Regions from separate parts of the Homo sapiens genome. Here region 2 is linked to region 1. The links are contacts of gene promoters, found by promoter capture Hi-C in human tissues and cell types (Jung and others, 2019). All regions are on one chromosome and are shown on one strand. The core of a region is centred on a gene start or on the middle of the fragment in contact, and the rest is flanking DNA. Distances in the headings are between cores, read along the strand shown. Region 1 holds the start of TP53BP2 (tumor protein p53 binding protein 2). Region 2 has its middle 55 kb from the start of TP53BP2.

The links. Contacts are between HindIII fragments. The study calls those that stand out against the background at their distance.
Region 2: a fragment that was not itself captured here is called in contact with the fragment with the promoter of TP53BP2 in region 1 in 1 of the 25 tissues and cell types used here (aorta).

The regions. Positions count from the first base shown.
Region 1 is chr1:223,841,414-223,848,936 of GRCh38, forward strand. TP53BP2 (tumor protein p53 binding protein 2) reads right to left here and starts at 4,534. Exons shown (of 18, transcript NM_001031685.3): 1 at 4,241-4,534. The coding sequence starts at 4,267. RefSeq lists a silencer at 4,362-4,671. The HindIII fragment of the contact is 6,657 bases long and covers 686-7,342 here.
Region 2 is chr1:223,897,439-223,904,961 of GRCh38, forward strand. No RefSeq gene overlaps it. Among named protein-coding and RNA genes, the nearest start is that of TP53BP2, 55 kb to the left of the region's middle. The HindIII fragment of the contact is 3,051 bases long and covers 3,288-6,338 here.

The DNA of each region.
Region 1 (7,523 bases), core at 3,284-5,783:
ACACTATTACTCAAGCAAAAAGAATTCTTTCAGACCATGATATAATCATACAAATAAAATGTTCCAAATACATAACTTGAAGTCATACAAATATAATGTTTCAAATACACAACTTGAAAGATTTTTAGTTTCAAAACACAATTTTGGTTGTGTTTTGTGCAAATCTGTGCAAATAAAACCAGACCTTTGTAAATAATAATACAAGTATTTAAGCAAAAGTTAAGCTACTGGTCTGTAGAGCTGCACACTTTGCAGTTATGCTCAGAAATATACAAATCCTACTGATCAGGTGGTCAAACTGCTAAAGGAGATACTGTAATATCCCATTTTTTTCCTAGACCCTCAAAATTAGAAGCTCAAATTTTATTCTGCAGCATCATGAAATAACTAGAAATAATTATGCCTCTGCAGCACTGAAAGATAAAATGCCATAAACTTAGGAATTAAACTATGATCACTTCAACTGAGCTTTTTAAAATAAGCCATTACTTTCTCTTTCTTTTTTTTTTTTTTTGAGACAGTCTCGCTCTGTCCCCCAGGCTAGAATGCAATGGCTCACTGCAACCTCCGCCTCAAGGGTTCAAGATTCGCGATCTCGGCTCACTGCAACCTCCGCCTCTAGGGTTCAAGATTCTCCTGCCTCAGCCTCCTGAGTAGCTGGGATTACAGGCACACGCCACCACGCCCAGCTAATTTTTGTATTTTTGGTAGAGATGGGGTTTCACCATGTTGGTCAGGCTGGTCTCAAACTCCTGACCTCGTGATCCACCCACCTCGGCCTCCCAAAGTGCTGGGATTACAGGCGTAGCCACCGTGCCCGGCCCAGCTATTATTTTCTTAAAACCATCTATATAAGGGCTATATGATGACATCGGTTTGACTGCATTGTCATACAGTAGCCACCAGGCATGTGGCTATTTAAATATAATTAAAATTAACTCAGGTTCAGTTCTTCAGTTCCCTTGGCCACATTTGAAGTGCAGTAGCCACATGTGGCTGGTGACTGCCATGCTGGACAGCAAAGATACAGAGCATTTCCATTACAGCTGGACATTCATGCCAAATATACAGCATCTCCAATGACCAAGTGACAGGCAAATTCAAGCCTTCTGGTCTTCCAGGTGGCACTACCAAATACTGTGTAGTTTTGTAAATAATTTTTTAAAATTTATTATTTCAACAGCAGGTACAAACAAAAATTTTTATGAAACTATCAGCTGAAAAGAGCAGAGAGTAGCTTTTAGAGTTAGCCAAGCTCTTTCTTAAGAACACATTTTTGTTTTGAGCATAACACTTCACAAAATCAAAGTAGTGAATAAAAGATATCTAATGTAATTTTCAAACGACTAAGAATTTTTGCTTTTGGTAACTGCCTCCCTTTACATGAAAATCAAATACAACATGCGGATCACTAAAAAGCCAAACTCTCAAAGTGCAAATAATCTCTTCTTTCATCAGGAAAAAGATGTCAAGTATGAAAGTAAAACCAGTTTCTCCTCGGCAAGTTGTGGAAATATCATAGAACTAGAGATACTAACAATGGCAGGTATCTGAAAGTGAGAGTAATTATCAATCCCATTTCTGCAGTACCCTATCATTATCTCTACTGTGATTTGCAGAGCTTGCTACTTATTTTTAGTTAGCCTTCTAAAATACATCTTCCACTTTTGGTTTTGGATCCAATTATCACTTCATGTCCCACATAAAAGAAAACCACTTGATCCTGTACCATTTGGTGAGAAAACACATGAACACAATTTATTTGCACTTTTTTTTTTTTTTATGGAGTCACTCTTAGTTACCAGGCTGGAGTACAGTGGTGCCATCTCGGCTCACTGCAACCTCCACCTCCAGGGTTCAAGCAATTTTGCCTCAGCCTCCCGAGTAGCTGGGACTACAGGCGCACGCCACCACACCCAGCTAATTTTTGTATTTTTAGTAGAGACGAGGTTTCACCATGTTGGCCAGGAGGGTCTCAATCTCTTGACCTCGTGATCCGCCCGCCTCGACCTCCCAAAGTGCTGAGATTACAGGCATGAGCCACCGCTCCTGGCCTATTTGCACATTTTTAATATAATGCAGTCTAAATAGTAAACCATTATCTTCAGAATGCCTTTAAAAGCAAATCAAGGGTTGTACCTAATGCCACAGAACTGTACACTTAAATATAGTTAAAATGGCATATTTTATTTTATGTATATTTTACCACAATAAAAGTACATCAAGGCAATTGTCTACATTCTGAGACTATCCATTTTTTTACACTAAATGGCTTTTCCTGATAAATTGGTTAGAATTTTCCAAAGCAATGTAACAAAATTACATTTATGTTGGAATAAAAATCCAAGCATATGAAAAGCCAAAGATGAGAAATATACTTAATAAAAGTTTTATTTTCAAATATCCAAAATATTACAGTATAAAGACACATATAACATGAGTCTACTAAATGAAAAATTATTTCATATTTTTATATATCACAAATCTGAGAATCTCCACTTTAACCAACATTGGAAATTCAGAGGCGTTTATCTACCGCCTATTGCAAGCTAGACACTGTACTAATCACACTTCCTTCATAAACATAACTCTAATCCTCAAACCACCCTAAGAGCTGAGTACTATTATCCCCATTTTACAGATGATGAAACTGAGGGACAAGTTTTTTTTAAGTGGCTACGTCACTAAAGGTAGTAGCTGAGCAATACTGAAGTGTTAGTCTGACTTCAAAGCTGGTGTAAGTGCCATCATACCACACTGAGTCTGTGTTAGGATTGTATTCTGACATCAGAAAGGCAATCAGAAGAACCATACTGCTAAATTGAATATAGTCTCAAGAGCCACATAACGTTTTATGAATTCGGCTACACAACGGATACCTTGGTAGGGTATCTCCAAAGGATACCTTGACAAAAAACAAGGAAGAAACCATATAGCAACAACTGATACGTGTTTCTCTTGCTCCTACTGTTAGGAAAAATTCACAGACAATCCGTACAAGTTACTTCAACACAAAGAAATGTAAATCCAGGAAATAAAAATCTTAACAGCAAAATCCATCACCCTTATCTATGGTCCATTATTTCAATATTGGGTATTCACACTACAAACCTGATTTCATAACCAGGCATTAAACTAAAATAAGATGCATAATGCTATTAATACTTTCAAATTCCTTGAATCCTGGCAGGACAAAATATCCCAAACCCTCTAAACCCAATTACTAATTCTAGTGAATTGTTAAGTCGACCCAGTGAGAGTTTGGGACGCCCTCCATGACACAAGCAGGGGGCCAGGGAACAGCATATTATACTCTGTATGTATGACTGCAAACTTTGTCATCACTCCATTCCACAGACTTCATAAAAGTAAAAGCTTTTTGTTTCTTTGTCTGAACAAATGGAGCCACAAGCATAGGATGCCTGCAAGATGTCCCCACTTCAGTGGGAGAGGTGCAAATACAACTTCCACGAAGAAACTCGCTACTGAAGTCTGCAGAAGCCACCGCAACACACCGCAAACCTCCATTCCGCGATCGCTGAATGACAGAGACATTTCTGAAATGTCTCAAACCTGCTGTTCATCTGTGGCCTGGTGGCCGTGTCAAAAGCCTGCGGAGCTCCTAAAGAAGGCACTAATCCTCTCCGGAGGTCTTGCTAAAAGCTGTGGGAAACGAAGGGAGCCAGGCACGTACGCTTTCCTGCAATCTAAAACTTCCGAGATTGCATTTACCAAAACCCCTTTCCACAAAGAGGTAAGGGTGACTTAGCTGCTACTGTGGATATCAAGATCGAAATTCAATTAAAAACAAAGCAAAGGTACCCGTTCCAGTAACGTATGTTTCACTCCAGTAAAAAGTAAAAAGACACAGCAAAGAACAAGGTCCCCGGTTCCCGTATTCTTGACCTTCAAGAACTGCAAAAAAGTCAAGACCCAGTGAAAGACGAAAAGTTTGAGTGGCTGCTGGGCTCGCGGGCGGCTCGCCTGACTCCGGAGCAGCTGGAGGAACCCGCCTCGAGGTTAGGGTCTCGCCGCGCCCCCACGACGGCTGTGGGCGCAGAGCCCAGAGGATGGAGCCTCCCCTTCCTGAAACCCGCTCGAAGCTCGGAAAGCCCCGGCCCCTCCGCGCGGGCTGCGGCCCCCAGGCTCCTTCCCCGACGCGCCCGAGGGCGCGGACCAGCCCCCGGCACGCGACCCCGCACACTTCCGGGCCCGACGCCCTGGCCGCTCGCCCACTTACCGGCATCATCTTGGACCCGAACCGCATGGAAGCGGGTGGCCAGACTGCGGCCCCGGCCGAGCTGAGGTGCCCCGGAGGGTCGCGGATGCGGGGGAGGGGAGCGGAGAGCGAGGCCGCCCGGACCTGTTGCGAGGCGGCGGCGGCGGCAGCGGCGGCGCGCGGGTCCGAAGGGCCCTCCGCGCGGGCTGGGGCACCAACAAGCCCCGGGCTCCCCCGCCCCGGCCGGGCCCCCTGACGCGGCTTTGTCTCTTCGACGCTCGTGACGGTCGGGGCTCCCTCCTCCGCTCCGAAACCAACTAATCCCGGGTCGGGCCCCAGCCGAGCCCGTGCCGGCTCCGCCCCCCGCGCCGACCCCGCCCGCGGCGCGCCCGGCGGCCTGGGGGAGGGGCGGCCGCGGGAACGGGAGCTGCGCGCGCCTGCGCGGGCCCGGCTGGGTAGACGGGGAGCGGCGGGAGCCGGCCGCCTTTTCTTTCTTCGCCCCGGACTGAAGTGCGGTCGGGGCCGCGCGGCGGAGCGGCTGGAGCGCGCGCCTCCTAGCGGAGCCGGGGCAATTGGAAGGCCGCGCCTCAGGAAAACAGGATGGTAGTGAATGGCACCGAGCCGCCCCAGGGCTGCCGCCGTCACCTCCTCGGCGGCTCCGAGTCGTGCGAGGCAGGGGACCCTTTGCCTTCAGAACAGGGCGCCCGACGTTGGGCGCGTGGACAGAGTCCTCCGGCGGCCGCGCCGCTGGGCCAGGCGGAGAGAGGCGGACGGACTTCAGGGGAGGCCCGGGCCACGCCGCGGAAACTACCCGACTCCCTGGAGGCGGCCAGGACCGACCCTGTCCCGACAAAATGGAGTTCCCCGTGTGGCTTCAGCTCGCGGCGCGTTCCCAGAGCTCCTCAGTGATCCGGCTTTCGGATTGTTCGCCTTTCATCTCATTTGCCGTTGTCCAAATTCTAATTTAAAACTCATGTGTTACTTGCTGTAAGGTTAACAAACGTACACCGCAAACTGGATAAAGGGATAACTTTTATGTTGTGTATGTTTTACCACAATAAAAATAAATTTTGTAAAAATGTGTCAGGCAGCATTCTGAGGAGCTTCCCTGGGGGGTGCTGGGAACACCCTGCAAACAGCCTCCGATACGGGGAGCCGGTGGATACCATCCTTTTCCAGGGAGGGAGGCCAAGGCCTAGGGAAATGGCAGGGCTGCCTTCCAAAGAGTAGCAGAGCGGGTTCAGGCTTTTATTCCACCTTCCAGAGAGACACATACTGCGGGAACCCTAACTCCAGGAAGCTTTGTTCTAGTAAGTTGTCAGTGCAAGTTCACTCAGAATCACTTTTCTCTGCCTTTATACATGATTCTAGAACCTGAAGTGGGGTAAATCCCCTGGGTTTATCTAGTATCAAGAACAGACAATTCTTTCTTAGCCCACCATATCCCTTACCAGAATCTCCATCGAACTCCCTATTGCACCATCCCAGATACTGTATCTGGAAATACTAAATTACGGTTAATTCAACTAGAATTTAACGTTCTCGCCCGGGCGCAGTGGCTCACGCCTGTAATCCCAGCACTTTGGGAGGCCGAGGCGGGCAGATCACCTGAGGTCAGGAGTTCGAGACCAGCCTGGCCACGTGGTGAAACCCTTGTCTCTACTAAAAATATAAAAATTAGCCGGGCATGGTGGCGCATGCCTGTAATGCCAGCTACTCGGGAGGCTGAGGCAGGAGAATCTCTTGAACCTGGGAAGCGGAGGTTGCAATGAGCAGAGATCACCCCACTGCACTTCAGCCTGGGCAACGAGAGTGAAACTCCATCTGAAAAAAAAAAAAAGAATTTAACGTTCTCAAAAAATCTGGTTTATAGTCTTGTTTTCTTAAGAGGGTTATACTGAGTTAAGCAAAATAAATTCATCCCTCATTCAGTAAATATTTATTAAATACCTGCCACTTGGTAGATATTCTTCTAAGTCCTAGGGATACATCAATGAACAAAAAGTTCAAAAGACAAGTGTAGTTATTGTGAAAAAAATAGAATAAGGTAAGAGAAGGGGATAAGGTGTACAGGTGCAACTTTAAATATGGTGGTCAAGGTAAGCCTCACTGAAAAGGCGGTGTGTGAGCACAGTCTTGAAGGAAATGAGGGTGTGAACTCCACAAATATGAAGGAAGATTTCCAGGCAGAGGGAACAGCCAACGCTAAGGCCTGATATGGGAGCCTGCCTGGCAAATTCTGGGACCATCAAGGAGGCTAAGATAGCTGGAGCAGACGATGAGGGGAGAGTAGTAGGAGATGAGATGGAGTGATATGAAGGGCCAGACAAGGAGGGCCTTGTAGGCTATTCTAAGGACTTTACCTTTGCTCTGAGTGAAATGGGGAGTTATGGAAAGGTTTTGAACAGAAGAGTGATGTCAGCTGACATATTTTAAGAGCTGCTGTGGAAAACTGAAAGTCAACAGAGAACAGTAAGAAACTCTTGTGATAAGCCAAGCAAAAGATGGAAGTGGCTTGCTCAAAGGCGATAACAGCGTCTATGGCAAATAGTGGTCAGGTTTTGGATATATTTTCAAGTCCAAACCCACAGAATTTCCTGACAGATTAGATGTGGAATATGAGAGAAAGAAGCCCAAATTTTTGTCCCAAAAGATGGAAGTTGCCACAAACCAAAATGGAGAAGACCATGAGTGGACCAAGTTACAGAAAAGAGGAGATCAATTGGGAACATGTTAACTTTCAGAATCTTAATAATAAAAGAAACCCTAATACTGAAATTTAGCACGTTTGTGGGAAGCAATAATTCTTTTTTCTTTTAACTTTTAGGTTTGGGGCTACATATGCAGGTTTGTTACATAGGCAAACTCGTGTCACAGGGGTTTGTTGTACAGATTATTTCATCACCCAGGTATGAAGCCCAGTACCCAATAGTTATCTTTTCTGCTCCACTCCTTCCGCTCACCCTCCACCCTCAAGTAGGCCCTACTGTCTGTTGTTCCCTTCTTTGCATTCATGAGTTCTCATCATTTAGCTCCCTCTTCTAAGTGAGAACATGCAGTATTGGGTTTTCTGTTCCTACGTTAGCTTGCTAAGGATAATAGCCTCCACTTCCATTCATGTTCCCACAAAAGACATGATCTTGATATTTTTTATGGCTGCATAGTATTCCATGGTGTATATGTAGCACATTTTCTTTATCCAGTCTGTTATTGATGGATATTTAGGTTGACTCAATGTCTTTGCTATTGTGAATAGTGCTACAATGAACATTCACATGCATGTGTCTTTATGGTAGAATGATTT
Region 2 (7,523 bases), core at 3,563-6,062, 56 kb after region 1:
ACCTCAGCTTCATCAGGAGACCCACTGCAAGTACTGGCCCAACAGGAGGGAAAGGAGCTGAGTCAGATGATACCACTGAGGGGCATGAGCAAATGAAAAAACAGGAACCCAGCCGTGAAGCTGGGCCTGAGTGTTGGAGATGCCACTATAGAGACCCTGGTCTTAGCAATCCAGACTTTTCCCCAGTAGAAGGGAAAGGCAAAGATTATCCTGGCCGGGACTGTGTAAGGACTTTGAAGGTCGGCCATCCATCTCACCCTGCTGTTTCCCTCCTTCCCTGCAGAACAGCCGTTCACCTGAATGTTCCAGGCTTTTGGTTAACAACCCCTGGTCTTCTATACCCATTCACACTCAAAATCAGGGGGAATTCCTTGAAATGGTTAAAATGCAAAAGTGAAATTTAGAAGCCCTATGAATGAAACAACAATCCAACAAAAAATTCCCAACACTTTAAGCAAATGCTTTTCAGGCAGAGCCTTCAAATTGCTACTGTCCCACTATCTTCTGGAATTGTGTGTGTGTGTGTGTGTGTGTGCGCGCGTGTGTGTGTGCACGCGTGTGTGTGTAGAGCAACAGGTGAAGCAGCAACCATAAGGTAGCCTACTTCAGGTCTGGCACCTGTTTTCACTGCTGTCATGTCCTCTTCACTGAGATCCTGACTTAAATATGTACACATGTGAATGCTGATTTCTTAGCATGAATTTTAACTCAGCTCCTGCTCGAGCATCAATGATTCCCAATTCCCATCAGAGTGAATGGCCCCTTCCTGGTCTCTGCAGTCAGTCCTCTGAAGCTGCTCAGCTGCACCCCTGGGAGCTGAGGGGCCAACTCTGACTCCCAAGAAGGTGACCTCTGTCTCCCTTCCAGGGCCAGAGATGCAACATCACACACACACTGCCTTTGGAACGTGTGATTAAGATTTTGGCTGCCAGTAGCCTGACAGCTTCCAGCAGCTTTGTCTGCCACTGTGTCCGCTTCTCTGTGCCAAAGTCACTGAAACAAAGGGACTGCAGATGTTGCTGTGAAGTCCTTCTGATTCTCCAGGACAGAGGATAGCACTACATTGGGTGGGGGGTAGAGTGGGGATGATGGACTTTGGGAAACCTGCATGATGGGCGTGAAACAATAAAAATGAAGCTGATTTTCTTCATAGCACTTGCTGCCGTAGAGATACATTTGTTTCTGTGTCCCTCTCACTGGAATGTAAACTCCCTGAAAGCAAGGACTTGGCTTATTTCTGTATCCCAAGAGCCTGACACAGTGCCTGGCACATGGTAGACACTCAATAGATGTTTGAGATAGGGAGGGAGGGAGGGAGAGAGGGAGGGAGGCAGAAAGGGAGGGAGGCAGAAAGGGAGGGAAGGAAGGAGCAAGGAAGGAAGGAAGGAAGGGAGGGAGGGAGGGAGGGAGGGACATAGACTGTGGAGTTGGATAGACTTGGCTTTAATCCTTTCTGTAGCAATTCTAGCTGTGTAAAAATACGCGAGTGAGTCATTTATTTTCTTCGAGTCTCTTTCTTCATCATAGTACCAATTAACAGGGCTGGGGTAGAGAGTGATACATGTAAGGTTGCTAGCACTATTGGCAATCAAAACATGAGAGCTACTTATTTACATTGTGAGTATTGCTACTACTGATATTATTAGTTCTGGACATTACTAATGATGTGAGCACTGGCCTTTCATCAGAGATTACTGGATAAGGAACATTTACCGTCTTGTCTCTGCACATTGTGCTAAAGTTCCTTCTTTATCCAACAACACTTTCTCCTGTTTTCCCAATTTAGTGAAAGGATTAATCTTTTCACTCTCATTCTTCCTGTTTTGTTTCCCATAATATGGGTCCCATCCTTCCTCATGAGATGGGTATCTCAGCAATTGAGCCCACCCCACCCACATATTTGACCCTGATCCAAGACCCTCATTTCTGGGAATGAACCCCAGATCAGCCATGATAGAGGATAGCCTGGTTTTATCTTTTTGCTTGTGAGCAGGATCCAACAATTCTCATAAAATTTTCCCCAGCCTGTTCAGTGGAATTGTCAAAGCATCATTTTCAAAAAGTGAAAATATGATTCTTATATAAGTCTATAGGGAGTGTGTATAAAGATCTATATACTTCACAAAAGAAAGAACCAGAAGATGGTAAAGCTGTTTGAAAAGAGAATTGGAAGGAGAAAGATTTGGATAGACCATCAGAAACAGCATGCTGACATAAGTTTGCTAATTTGGAAACCTCACTCGTTAATGTCCTGTAGAGCAATAAAATCTTTTTACAGGACAAAAATCATTTGTATCTCTACCAGACAAAAATTAACATGTAACTTGGCAGAGTCTGGGCCCTAATCAATAGTAAATAGTAAGTCAAACAAAAGTACATTCCCTTAGAGAGTTAAAAAAAGCTTTGGTGGTTTGTTAGGCAACCTTCCAGTATGGCATTAGAAAGACGTGCAGTCATCCTATTTTTACTTCCGAGTTTGGGATACTGTTTTTTTTTTGAGATGGAATTTTGCTCTTGTTGGCCAGGCTGGAATGCAGTGGCGTGATCTCACCTCACTGCAACCTCCACCTCCCCGGTCCAAGCAATTCTCCTGCCTCAGCCTTCCCAGCAGCTGGGATTACAGGTACACACCACCACGCCTGGCTAATTTTTGTATTTTTTAGTAGACACAGGATTTCACCACGTTGGCCAGGCTGGTCTCAAACTCCTGACCTCAAGTGATCTGCCCACCTTGGCCTCTCAAAGTGCTGCGATTACAGGCATGAGCCACCATGCCTGGCCAAGTTCAGGATACATGTTTAAAACAAAATTGGTCCCCCTCAGCCTGGTGGATGTCCCTGCAGAATTTTAAAATACTATTATGTTCTAGATGTCTGATGCTGTCAATTCTCAATGGCCAGAAGAGGGCATCTGCCCAGATCAGTTCAGGTGTCTATCCCTGGTCCGATCGCCTGTGCCCAGGGTAGCACATCAGGTACACAGGGCTGTTTCTTCCCTCCTATTGGTAGAATAGCTTTTCCAAGAAGGGGATAGGCTGGAATGGAAGAAAAGAGTCCAAAGAGGAAGGAACCACAACAGAAAGAGAATTGCTTTCCTTTCAGTTGTGGGAGCACCAGCTTAATGCCTCTTCCACATTTGCCCAGCAGAGGAAATGATTGGGCCGAATGACAGAAAACCTAGGATAGCCTTTTTGGTGCCTCCTGACAATCACAGAAGCGGGCTGGGATCCTACCCAGGTATGGCAGAGCAAGTGAGCCCACCTAGGTGGGAATCCTTACCCTCCTAATCCTGCAGGTTCACTTCACAATCTTGTGTAGACCTTAAACCATTGTTTAGACAGTTATATGAAATGGGGTATTTTCTGAAGAAAAGGACAGTGAATGGGGATATGGGGATTTTTTTTTTTTTTTTTTTTTTTTTGAGACAGAGTCTCACTCTGTCGCCTAGGCTGGAGTGCAGTGGCATGATCTCTGCTCACTGCAACCTCTGCCTCCTGGGTTCAAGTGATTCTCCTGCCTCAGCCTCCCGAGTAGCTGGGATTACAGGCGCCCACCACCACACCCAGCTAATTTTTGTATTTTTAGTAGAGACAGGGTTTCACCGTGTTGGCCAGGCTGGTCTCAAACTCCTGACCTCAGGGTATTCCGCCCGCCTTGGCCTCCCAAAGTGCTGGGATTACAAGCATGAGCCACCGCACTGGGCTGGGGATTTCTAAGTCCACTTGGATCTCTCCCCTCTGGGCCTCAATGGGCAGCATTTTATCTGTAGCCTTTTTATCTTATAATAGTTTAATGGATCTATTTTGAGTAAGGGATATGTACAAATTCTTTTGTGATTCCAGGAGGAGATGAGAAGTACAAAGTGCAATTATAAAATTATCATTGTCACCATTATCTCCAATCAGCACATCATTCACAGTGACAGTTCTAAGAGCTTTATATGGGAAAAGTGTAATCTATTGCAAATAGAGGGCCATCATTACTGCTCTTAGGCTCCCTTTAGGATTAGGGATGCAGGTTATCATCTAGGTCCTGTGGTCTCCTAGAGAGAGCAGGGAGCACCATCTCCATTAGTCGAAAGAAAGAAATGTAAATGTTATGAGATGAGACTAGGGCAATGACTCCCTGTTCTTGAGACAACGAGTCAATTCAGTGTCGAAGAAAAACTCAGTAAGCTTTGATGCCTTGCTCTTAACCTACAAACTTGGTAGAGCCACAGAAAGAACATGGAACAAAATGAAGAAATGGTTTAGTTCCTCTAAGGATCCTTTCATACTTAGGCATTGCTTAATCCAGTTGACTGATTTTTCAAAGAATCTTGCCATATCTGATTTGAAAGCACACAAAGTAGGTGGCTACTTCACGCCTCATCTCTTGGCTCTAGGATCATATTGGGATCAGGTTCTTTGCAGATCAGAAATGGCATAGGGGAGTGTACCGGGAATCAGACAAACCTAAGCACACATCCAGATTCTGCCATTTTTTTTTTTTTTTTTTTTTAGCTGTGTGGGAAAATCTCTTTGCTACTGACATGGTTTGGCTCTGTGTCCCCACCCAAATCTCATGTTGAATTGTAATCCCCAGTGTTGGAGGTGGAGCCTGATGGGAGGTGATTGGATCATGGGGGTGGTTTCTAATGGTTTAGCACTATCCCCCAGTGCTGTCTCATCATAGAGTGCTCATGAGATCTGGTTGTTTAAAAGTGTACAGCACTCCCGCTTTAGCTCTCTTCCTCCTTCTCCAGCCAAGTAAGACGTGCCTCCTTCCCCTTCACCTTCTGCCATGACTGTCAGTTTCCTGAGGCCTCCCAAGCCATGCTTCCTGTATGGCCTGTGGAACTGAGAGTCAATTAAACATCTTTCTTTTTTTTTTTTTTTTTTTTTTGAGATGGAGTCTCACTGTCACTCAGGCTGGAGTGCAGTGGTGTGATCTTGGCTCACTGCAACCTCCACCTCCAGGGTTCAAGCAATCCTCCTGCCTCAGCCTCCTGAGTAGCTAGGATTACAGGTGTGCACCACCACACCCAACTAATTTGTGTGTGTGTGTGTGTGTGTGTGTGTTTAGTAGACACAGGGTTTCACCATGTTGGTCAGGCTGGTCTCTAACTCCCGACCTCGTGGTCTGCCCACCTCAGCATCCCAAAGTGCTAGGATTATAGGCATGAGCCACCATGCCCGGCCCACCTCTTTTCTTTATAAGTTACCCGGTTTCAGGTAGTTCTTCATAGCAATGCAGACTAATACAACTACTTTGAGTCTCACCTTTCCTTATTTGGAAAAATATTTCCATTGAAGTGTTATGGTGAAGATTCAATACAATTAAATGATATAACATATGTAAAGGGCTTAGAAATAACCCAATGGCTAATAAGCAACCAAGGAGTGGTAGCTCTCAGTATAGTCAGCCTCTAAGAAGAGAGCAAATGTTTATTTTCAAGAAGAATTATGCAGAAAGGGCCACTTTCAGTCTACCATCCCCCCAAATTCCTTGAAGGAAGGATGATGTGAGCAGCAAGGGAAGACAGGAGAGTGGGCATGAAATACTACAGAACCTGCAAGGAATGAAGTCCCTCTGTCTGTGTGTGCCTATATCAATAATTTAAACTTACACATTCATGAGATGCACTGTGTTTATTAGGATGTACATGTGTCCCTAAGAATCTGAGAGTTCCTGAGGGACAGAGACGGTGTCTTACTCATCTGCTCTCCCCAGGTCCTGGCTTACTATCTGGCACTTATTGGGTAATAAATGTCTGTTGAATGCATGGAAAAAGAAAGGTAGGAAAGGTATGAAGGAGAAGATGGAGGTCACGACCAGTAGAAATCTCAGCTGTTCTGCCTGGGCTCCATGTCATCTCCCTGCTATTAGGCCCATCAGAATGTAAGCACAAATGCCTAGAGAATGACAAGCTTCTTTGGGACTCTGCTGACTAGACATGACATAAGACTGGACAGCTCCTGGGGAACTTCCAAGAGCTGGCTCCAGGCAGTAACTAATCCTAGGAGCTGCTGGCTTGGCTGCCTCTCTCCCTTCCTTATTTCCAAGATTGGTCACCTCCTGCTCTGAAATAGCAATTGATTTTCAGACATGAGTTGATAGAGCCATGATTTTCTAATACTGTTCCAAAGGGGCTAAAGTACCTCTGAGGAGCAGTGCAGGCTAGGATCAAACTCTCCCTACCTTCCACTCCACTCCCTACCTTGCCCCTCCACCTCTGCCCACTTTCTATTTCCTCAGGCACAGCAGCTTCTACCTTATGGATTACAAATTCTGGTCATCCATCTATGGTTGCATTAGGAAAAGAGTACTGCTACTTTCATTTTCTTTTCTAACCACTGCCCTAGAAGAATAACACCTCACATTCTCTGGTAGACTGAAGCCTGCAGCTGCAAGGATGCTCAGAAAACCAGACTTCTATTCATTGGCCACTTGCTGCACTTTCTGTCCCTCGATCCTTGCAATGTACCTTTGAGGTAGGCATAAAAATCCCCATTTATAAGTGAGAAAACCAAGGCAAAAGAGGTTCAGTTTATTTCAGGCTCAAATGTGCTTCCAATAGCTTATAGCCTCTACAGCTAGTGTTTGAACCCAGGTCTGAAACAAATAGGATTGACAAGGGGAGGGAAAAGAGGAACAGAAATTCTTTTCTATAAGACAATTGTTTATGCAGCCAGGATTTCTTAAAATCCAGTCTGTGCCTACGGACATAATCTTTGAATTTGCTTTGTTTCTCGATGAATAACTTGGAAGCTATTCAAATAACTTGGAAGCTTCCTTTAAAAGGAACATAAGGAGGTGATTTTTAACTAACCCTAGGTGTACTTTCTGAGCCAAATAGATTTTCAAATAAGAAAATGAGAGGACGTGAGCTTGAGGAAAATGATAGGCATTCCAACCTCACCTGCTTGCTGACAACCTCCACGTGATTTCAACAATGATTTCAAATATTTCACTTTTTAAGTCAGTGTGACTTAAGTATGAAATTGCCTCTCCCTAAAGCTCCCCTAAGGCCTAAACAGTTGTCATTACCATAGCTGTGACAGGGAGACTGTTGAATTTATAATCTATTGGCCATTCACAGCATAGCATATAAACCTAGCTCATGATTTCTTTGCAATAGAAGTGCACTTTTTCATCATATTCCCTTCACAACTTACTCACCAGATCAGACTTTGAGCTCTCCTCCAGGCTGGCTTAGCCTGGATCATTTGAAATGGTCATCCATCCTTTGGCCCCAATACCTAAACTAAGGTCTATGAACAATAAGATTATTTTCTTCAGTGGGACTTTTTTGTTTAATATAATATTAGATTTTTCCCCTGATACAAGGCTCAATCTTTTTCTTTTTAAAGCAATATTTCTCAAAGTACTTTTCACAGAACTTAAGTTTCATTAAGCACTTCACTAAAAGTCTGTGATCTAATAAATTTGGAAAATATTGAGAATTAGAGCCCCCTCTTAGATATGTACTGTAGCTACTCAGCTTGTTACAGATGAAGTAAACATTGTAATATTCACCCAGCT